Regions from separate parts of the Homo sapiens genome. Here all the other regions are linked to region 2. The links are contacts of gene promoters, found by promoter capture Hi-C in human tissues and cell types (Jung and others, 2019). All regions are on one chromosome and are shown on one strand. The core of a region is centred on a gene start or on the middle of the fragment in contact, and the rest is flanking DNA. Distances in the headings are between cores, read along the strand shown.

Region 1 (2,854 bases), core at 344-2,843, 410 kb before region 2:
TTTTGTTTTTCCAAGACAGAGTCTCACTCTGTTGCCCAGGCTGGAGTGCAGTGGCACGGTCTCGGTTCGCTGCAACCTCTGCCTCCCAGGTTCAAGCCATTCTCCTGCGTCAGCCTCCTGAGAGCTGGGACTACAGGCGCCTGCCACAACGTCCGGTTAATTTTTGTATATTTAGTAGAGATGGGGTTTTGCCATATTGGCCAGGGTGGTCTCAAACTCCTGAGCTCAGGTGATCTGCCTGCCTCGGTCTCCCAAAGTGCTGGGATTACAGGCGTGAGCCACTGTGCCCAGCCTGACTCCTGTTTTTTGAGACAGGGTCTCACCCTGTTTCCCAGGTTGGAGTACAGTGGTGCCATCATAGCTCACTGCAGCCTTGAACTCTTTGGCTCAAGCAATCCTCCCCACTCAGCCTCTCAAGTAGCTGGGGCTCCAGGCATGAATCACCATGCCAGACTAAGTTTTTTTAAAATTTTTTGTAGAGAGAGTCTCTCTCTGTTGCACAGGCTGTTCTCGAACTCCTAAGCTCAAGCGATCCTCCTGTCCGCAGCCTCCGAAAGTGCTGGGATTACAGTTGTGAGCCACTGTGTCTGGCTCTTTTAATCTTGAAAACTCTGGGAAGAGCTCACTTCTGTTTAGGAGGCTGCCTTGGGAACTGCATCTCCTGGCGTGGTGCTCTGTGCTGCTTAGAGTCTGCTGACCCCGTCTGGGTGGCTTGGCCTCCCGTGCGCAAGCTGCCAGAATGGAGGCCCTGTTCCCCATGTGGGGGTTGCCCCAAAGAGCAGGGAGCTTCCCACAGGACAGAGGCTGGGCACCTGCTTGGCCTGGTTCCTCCTTTTCCCAGGGCTCCAACACCCACCACCTCAGGTCCTCCCAAACCCTGCAGGTCCCTGGCCTGGTCCGTCCACACCCACACTCAGCAATCTCTGCACATCTCTGAGTTGCTGATCTGTCTTCAGGCACGGCCCGCCAGCCCCCCTGCGTGCCCAGAGACACTGCAAACATCAGCCATTCCAGACAACGTCCTCCTCCCGTGTCCCTATCTCGTGGAGTAATGCCTCTAATTCAGCCACACAAAGACCCCACGCTCCACATCCCCTAGAACCCTCGTCTTCTCCTGTGACCCAACACGGGCCTTCCTTTCAGGACTAGGATGTGGGAAGAATCAAGGCCACCCTTGTCCAAATCCATGCAGACAACAGTGATGGAGTCCTGGGCCCAAGGACCAGCTCCTAGAGCCTGCAGGGAAGCAACAGCACATTCCATCTGTCCCCATGCCACTGAGGAATCTTTGGTGGCAGGATTCTCAGCAGGCATGGCCATGCATGCACAGAACAGAGAAAGGATGGCCTGGATCACACACATCACTGTGTGCAGATGCTTTCCTAGACACTGCAGCCAAAGACACAGAGGCTCAGAGAGGTAAAGAAACTTGCCCAAGGTCACACAGCCTCTAAGCACCAGGAGTACTCTGTGTCAACCCCAAAGCCCTGGTCTTTCCACTCTACCATGAGCCCTGGGTTTCCTGAGGTCTCAGATTCCTCTACAGTTTCTTTCTTTTTCTTTTTTTTTTTGGAAGAGTCTTGCTCTGTCACCCAGGCTGGACTGGAGTGCAGTGGTGCGATCTTGGCTCACTGCAACCTCTGCCTGCTGGGTTCAAGTGATTCTCCTGCCTCAGCCTCTCGAGTATCTGGGATTACAGGCACCCACCATCACACCTGGCTGATTTTTGTATTTTTAGTAGAGATGGGGTTTCACCATGTTACTCAGGCTGGTCTCCAACTCCTGGCCTCAGGTGATTCGCCCACCTCGGCCTCCCAAAGTGCTGGGATTACAGACGTGAACCACCATGCCCAGGCTCCCCTACAGTAGCTGTAGAAAGAAGGCTTAATCTTTAAGATAGTTTCCTCTAATCTGTTGCTCTCAGCCCACAATGCCACACCTCTGTCTTCTCCTGTGTCGGGACAGAGCGAGACTCAAAGTCAGAGCTCTACGAAACCTGCAGGACAGAAAGAAGCTTAGCAGGCCTCTCAAAGACGAGGCCCAGACCGGGCACGGTGACTCACGCCTATAATCCCAGCACTCTCAGAGGCCGAGGCAGGTGGATCACTTGAGGTCAGGAGTTCCAGACCAGCCTGGCCAACATGGTGAAACCCCGTCTCTACTAAAAATACAAAAAATTAGCTGGGCGTGGTGGTGCATGCCTGTAATCCCAGTTACTCAGGAGGCTGAAGCAGGAGAATCCCTTGAACTGGGAGGTGGAGGTTGCAGTGAGCTGAGATTGCGCCACTGCACTCCAGCCTAGGCGACAGAGCAAGACTCCGTCTCAAAAAAAAAAAAAAAAAAAACACCAAACAGGCTGGGCGCGGTGGCTCACATCTGTAATCCCAGCACTTTGGGAGGCCGAGGTGGGTGGATCACCTGAGCTCAGAAGTTCGAGACCAGCCTGTCCAACGTGGTGAAACCCCGTCTCAACTAAAAGTACAAAATTTAGCCAGGCGTGGTGGCAGGTGCCTGTAATCCCAGCTACTCCGGGGGCGGAGGCAGGAGAATCGCTTAAACCTGGGAGGCGGAGGTTACAGAGAGCCAAGATCGCGCCATCGTACTCCAGCCTGGGGGACAAGAGCGAGACTTCATCTCAAAACAACAACAACACACAAAAAACCCAAACAAACAAAAAACATGGGACCCCAAACTTACTATGCCAAAGGGAAATGTTAAGCTTGGGAACTGAGTCACGCAATAGCCTTTTGTTCCTAAACAGATGGCTGCAAGATAGAAGGCCACCTAGCTCCCCTGGTGGCCTCCCTCACCCTGGCCATGTAAATTCACAGCTTATCTTCACAGGCAGGGGACA
Region 2 (2,700 bases), core at 42-2,541:
CATCCAACATTTACTTCTTTTTTTATTAGCAAATAAAATGTTCTTTGGAATGACAATAGCTCCACCTACACCGGCACACTTCCACGTTACAGTATCATGAACATTAGCTACACTCCTGCCCCGAAACAAGCTTTTGTCTGAGCCGTTCCCAAACCAAGGTATTAAAAGTGATCATTCTTTACCAAACAAAGATACTTTTGGACTGCAACCCAGGAGACTGAACACCTCAGTGTGTATTATTGTGGTGTTATCCTGGGAAAGTAATCCTTTCTGCAAGAAAACACAAAGCCCAAGTGTGTCCTTGACAAACAGCAAGATGTTCATAGCCTATATTCTAACGAGGCAACTTGTATTTAAAAAATAAAATAAAAAAAAGTGCAGAGTCCTGGAATTAAACACCATGAGCTCTCTATTCAAAGATGTTTCTTTTAAGCAAAGTGTTTCAATTATACATAGTTGTCTGCATTTGACAACAATCAGGACGACGCTAAATGCGGTTCCTTCTCCAGATCAGAGCGAGAAACCAAGGAGAAATGAAATTGTGCCAAAGAGCACGTAGCACCTGTCAAGGCACTGTGACCCAAGAAAGATTAATACAAAGAAGCTACGATGGATTTATCTCCTTGGTCTCCCCCCGCCCGCAAGGAGTCGTACCATCCCCGGGCCAGAGCCGCCAAATCCCTGCCTCACACGTAAGGGGAAGGGAATCGCCCCTCTTGGCTGCCGACCTTCCCCAGTCGGCCGGCCTCGTGGCGAAGGGGCCAGGGGCCTGCAAGGCGGGCAGGCAACAGAGGGCCGCGAAAGAGGCCGGGACCGGAGCGGGGCAGGCCGTGTGGCCCGTACCCCAGCGCCACAGCTCAGCCCCGCACTGGTCCTACCGTAGGGGGGATGGGGCTGGAAGCGGGCGCTCGTCTCCGGGCATCGGCGCCGCCGCGGCCAAGGCAGGGCAAAAACCAACACGTTGTCGTTGGCGGGAGGCAGTGGAAGGGATCCGCCCCGCAAGCAAGACCCCGGGAGCCCAGCCGCCGCCGCCCCGTCTCCGAGCGCGCCATTTCCAGGCCCCGGCCCTCCAGGCGCCGCTCCTAGGCCTCCGCGGGCCCCCGCCTCCCGCCGCCCCGGCTGAGCGCAGGACGGCCGCCACCCTGACGGCCCCGACTCCGCCGGTCCCGCAGCCCCCGACGGGGCCCGCGCACGCCCGCCTCACCCTCTGCCGCCGCCGAAGCTGCTGTAGGCCCGATCGTCGTAGGTGTCGAAGTCCGCCATTTGCCGTCTCCGCTCCGAGAGGAACCAGGGTGAGCGAGGAAGGACCCCGCAATATAACTCCCCCCGCCCCGCCGCCGGGGCTGTCCGCCGCGCCGCCTGATCGCAAATCCCTTGGACGCAGGCACGCGCACGCGCGCGCGCGCACGCACGCACGGACGCTGGCCGCGCAGCGCCCGGCCCTGGGCCCACCGGCAGCTGCCTGCCCCGTGCGCTCTGCAGCCCACGTGGTGCGGCGGCGTCCCAGCTGGACGCCTGCCCGGCCTACGCGGCCCATTATGTGCTGGCCCTGGGGTGCGCCCGTGGCTGCCTCCTATCCCCGCCGCACCACGCCCGTGCGCGCCGGCCTTTCCGTCCGTCGGCGGGAGGTGACCTGGAGAGCTGGGGGGAACTCCCTCTCCAGTTCGCCTGGGACGCTGCCTTTCGGCCTCCATACATGGCGGGGACCTCGGAGGCCTGTCCCGCTTGGACCCCCAAGTGGTCCCCGGGTGACACCCAAGTAAAGGCCACCTCCTTCTCCAGGCAGGAGCTGGCCACACGATGAGGATGCCCCGGAAGGGGGTGCGAGGCGGTGGGATGCAGACACGAATCCTGCCTTCCAGGGCTTACTCGCTGCCTGGGTATTGGGGGGTTTTGAGAGGAGAGAGTATAGGTGATCGGTGACTTAGCAAGAGAGACTGCACATCTCGGTTTTTTGCAGAAGTCGTTGCCTTGGAAAAAGAATTGGATACTGTTGTGGATTCCATCATCTAGCAATAACAAAACATGGTTATGCAGTGGGAATTAATTACACGGGTAAATTTCCAGGTTTGTGATTGAGATGGTAGTAATTGTGGATGCCACGATGTTGACAAACCTTAATTATCTAAGCACACTTTGAAAGAACCTCATAGAATTTTGTTGTGATGTGTACCTAGGTATCTTCCGCTTAACCATTACTTTTTATTATGTATTTATTGGTTCGTTGTTGAGACAGGGTCTCGCTCTGTCGCCCAGGCTGGACTGCGGTGGAACAGTGGTAGCTCACGGCAGCCTTGACCTCTTGGGCTCATGCCATCCTGCCGCCTTAGCCTCTGGAGTAGCTAGGACTATAGGCGGGCAGTACCTCGCCTAATTTGCATTTTTTTTTTTTTTTTTTTGAGATGGAGAATCAGGTTGGAGTGCAGTGGCGCAATCTCATCTCACTGCAACCTCCACCTCCTCGGTTCAAGCAATTCTCCTGCCTCTGTCTCCCGAGTAACTGGGGTGACAGACGTGCACCACCACACCCAGTTAATTTTTGTATTTTTAGTAGAGACAGCGTTTCACCATGTTGCCCAGGCTGGTCTTGAACTGAGATCCACCCGCCTTGGCCTCCCAAAGTGCTGGGATTACAGGCATGAGCCACCGTGCCTGGCTCTAATTTGCTTTGTAAAACATTTATTTGTAGAGACAGAGTCT
Region 3 (2,948 bases), core at 28-2,527, 330 kb after region 2:
CAGAGTCTTGCTGTGTTGCCCAGGCTGAAGTGCAATGGCGTGATCTTGGCTCACTGCAACCTCTGCCTCCCCGGTTCAAGTGATTCTCCTGCCTCAGCCTCCCAAGTAGGTGGGATTACAGGCATGCACCACCATCCCTGGATAATTTTTGTACTTTTAGTAGAGACAGGGTTTTGCCATGTTGGCCAGGCTGGTCTTGAACTCCTGATCTCAAGTGATCCACCCACCTTGGCCTCCCAAAGTACTGGGATTACAGGTGTGAGCCACCGCACCTGGCTGGTGTAGTTTGAGTCCACAGGATTTGCTGATGAACAGGGTGCGAGATGGGAGAAAAACAGCTTGAGCTGAGCCCCTGAGTGCAAGGTGGTTCAGGGGCATTTGCAGAGACGGGCCCTGAAGAGGAGCAGATTTGGGAGTGGAAAGAATCACTCTCGGGTCTGGGCTCGTTGCCAGACCTGTGGCCTCCAAGGAGATGTCAGTTTCATGGCTGGGTGAACAAGTCCAGAGTTCAGGGGAGAGCCAAGACTAGAAGTCATCAATTTGGGAGTCACCCACAAATAAACAGTATTTAAAACCACGGGACTAGATGAGATCACCTAGGAAGTGGGTGTACACAGAGAAGGAAGAAGACCCAGGACAGAGCCGGGGGCCTCTCCTAAGCTTAGAGGTAGGAGAAGAGCAAGGAGGAGGCGGTGAAGAAGATGAGGTAGGAAGAAAACTCCAAGGAAGGGAAGTTGCCATCTGGTCCTCAACAGCCCCCACACCCCATCAGCACCAAGGTCACCCCCTCCTCAGCAGCCCCTGACTCTTGACACTCCAGCTCTTGCCAAGTAACTGCAACAGCCTCGGAACTTGCGGTTCACCCAGCTGGCTCTCCCTGCCGCCTTCTGGAGCCATCTTGGTAAAATGCAAATCTGAAGCCACAACTCCCCATTACACATTCAGGGTTAGAAAGCACGTCCATAGACCAGGCGTGGTGGCTCATGCCTGTAATCCCAGCACTTTGGGAGGCCGAGGCAGGCAGATCACCTGAGGTCAAGAGTTTGAGACCAGCCTGGCCAGCGTGGCAAAACCCCATCCCTACTAAAAATACAAAAAAAATTAGCTGGGCGTGGTGGCACATGCCTGTAGTCCCAGCTACTTGGGAGGCTGAGGCAGGAGAATTGCTTGAACCCAGAAGGCAGAGGTTGCAGTGAGCCAAGATTGCACCACTACACTCCAGCCTGGGCAACAGAGTGAGACTCCATCAAGAAAGGAAGGAAGGAAGAAAGGAAGGAAGAAAGGGAGGGAGGGAGGGAAAGGAAAGGAAAGGAAAGGAAAGGAAAGGAAAGAAAGAAAGAAAGAAAGAAAGAAAGAAAGAAAGAAAGAAAGAAAGAAAGAAAGAAGGAAGGAAGGAAAGAAAAGAAAGAAAGAAAAAGAAAAGAAGGAAGGAAGGAAGGAAGGGAGGGAGTCCATAGCCTGGGGACCAAGCTCTCCATGGCCTGGGTCCTGCACACATCAAAATGGACACCTGTAACATTCCCCGCTCATCACACAGGTGCACATGAAGGAACACACGCCCTCACACCCCAGGAGCAGCACAGGAGCCCGCACTGTGGCAGGCCAGGTCTCCCCAACAACTGTTTCAGTACTGACTGAGTGGTTAATTTAAATATTAAAAGCCAGTGCCCTTATACAAAGGCTGGGATGTAACAAAAGCCCACCAAGAGTTTTGCCCAGGCCTTTCCTGGGCCTTAAATCACGACAAAATAATGAAGGAATTCTTAACAGGACCATTTAGAATTAAGCAAGTTTTATTTTGGGTCTGAAGAAACTCCCCAGGCCTCCACAAACAAATTTATTGGCGGTCTGAAGGAACTCCTCAAACCTCCATGATTTAGCAGGAGATAACAGGAATCACCCCAGCACCTGGACCCATTTAGATAAGTAAATTTACTGAGGTTCCAGAGGAAGAGCTTCGGGACTCAGACCTTAGTCATGGATTAAAAGAAATTAATCACTTATGTCTTCAGATGAATGCACACTTACACATAGACGTATAGCTTAGAAGGTGTATAAGCTCTGGAAAACTTTGTAACTTTGAGTTAGTCGGGTGATAATTTCCACGCCTTCTCCCTGTAAACGGTTACAGAAATAAAAACTCTCTTCCTCCCCAGTTTGTGTGCATCTCGTTATTGGGCCACAAGAAGTAGCAGCCCGACCCTCAGTTTGGTCTGGGAACAGTACCACAAGCCATTCTCCCCTCCCTCCTTCCTGGATGGAAAGCTCACACCCCACACCTGAGCCTCAAAGTGCCAGATCACAGTTTCCCAGCTTCTGTGGCTTCTGGAAATACCCTCCTCCCATAGAAAGAAAGAGAAAGGCCAGGTAGGTTCCTCACACATGTAATCCCAGCATTTTGAATGCCAAGGAGGGAGGATGGCTTGAGCCCAGGAATTGGAGACCAGCCTAGGCAACATAGCAAGACCCCATCTCTACAATTTTTTTTTTTTAATTAACCAGGCTTGGTGGCAAGCACCTGGAGTCCCAGCTACCCAGGAGGCTGAGGCAGAAGGATTGCTTGAGCCCAGGACGTAGAGGCTGCAGTGAGCTAGGATTGTATCACTGCACTCCAGCCTGAAAACAGAGCAAGACCCCTCTCAAAAAAATAAAATTAAAATTAAAAATATAAAGGACAAAAGGGAGAGAGGGAGGGAGGAAGGGAGGGAGGGAGGGAGGGAAGGAGAAACAAGGAAAAGCTCCTGCCATTCCTAGCCTACTTTGGGCTTTGTTTTGTTTGTATTTTTTTCTTTGAGATGGACTCGCTCTGTTGCTAGGCTGGAGTGCAATGGCGCAATCCTGGCTCACTGCAACTTCCGCCTCCCAGGTTCAAGCAATTCTCCTGCCTCAGTCTCCCGAGTAGCTGGGACTACAGGTGCCCGCCAGCATGCCCAGCTAATTTTTGTATT

Evidence for each region. Contacts are between HindIII fragments. The study calls those that stand out against the background at their distance.
Region 1: a fragment that was not itself captured here is called in contact with the fragment with the promoter of EIF4H in region 2 in 2 of the 25 tissues and cell types used here (dorsolateral prefrontal cortex and lymphoblastoid cells).
Region 3: a contact is called between a fragment that was not itself captured here and the fragment with the promoter of EIF4H in region 2, in 1 of the 25 tissues and cell types used here (IMR-90 fibroblasts).

Annotation. Positions count from the first base shown.
Region 1 is chr7:74,584,602-74,587,455 of GRCh38, reverse strand. The region is part of intron 22 of GTF2IRD1 (GTF2I repeat domain containing 1); the gene reads right to left. Among named protein-coding and RNA genes, the nearest start is that of MIR10525, 9.9 kb to the left of the region's middle. RefSeq lists an enhancer at 1-256. The HindIII fragment of the contact is 6,527 bases long and covers 1-2,854 here.
Region 2 is chr7:74,172,947-74,175,646 of GRCh38, reverse strand. EIF4H (eukaryotic translation initiation factor 4H) reads right to left here and starts at 1,291. Exons shown (of 7, transcript NM_022170.2): 1 at 1,205-1,291. The coding sequence starts at 1,263. RefSeq lists enhancers at 226-738, 739-1,252, 1,234-1,528 and a silencer at 1,031-1,540. The HindIII fragment of the contact is 15,155 bases long and covers 1-2,700 here.
Region 3 is chr7:73,847,159-73,850,106 of GRCh38, reverse strand. No RefSeq gene overlaps it. Among named protein-coding and RNA genes, the nearest start is that of METTL27, 6.1 kb to the right of the region's middle. The HindIII fragment of the contact is 7,829 bases long and covers 1-2,948 here.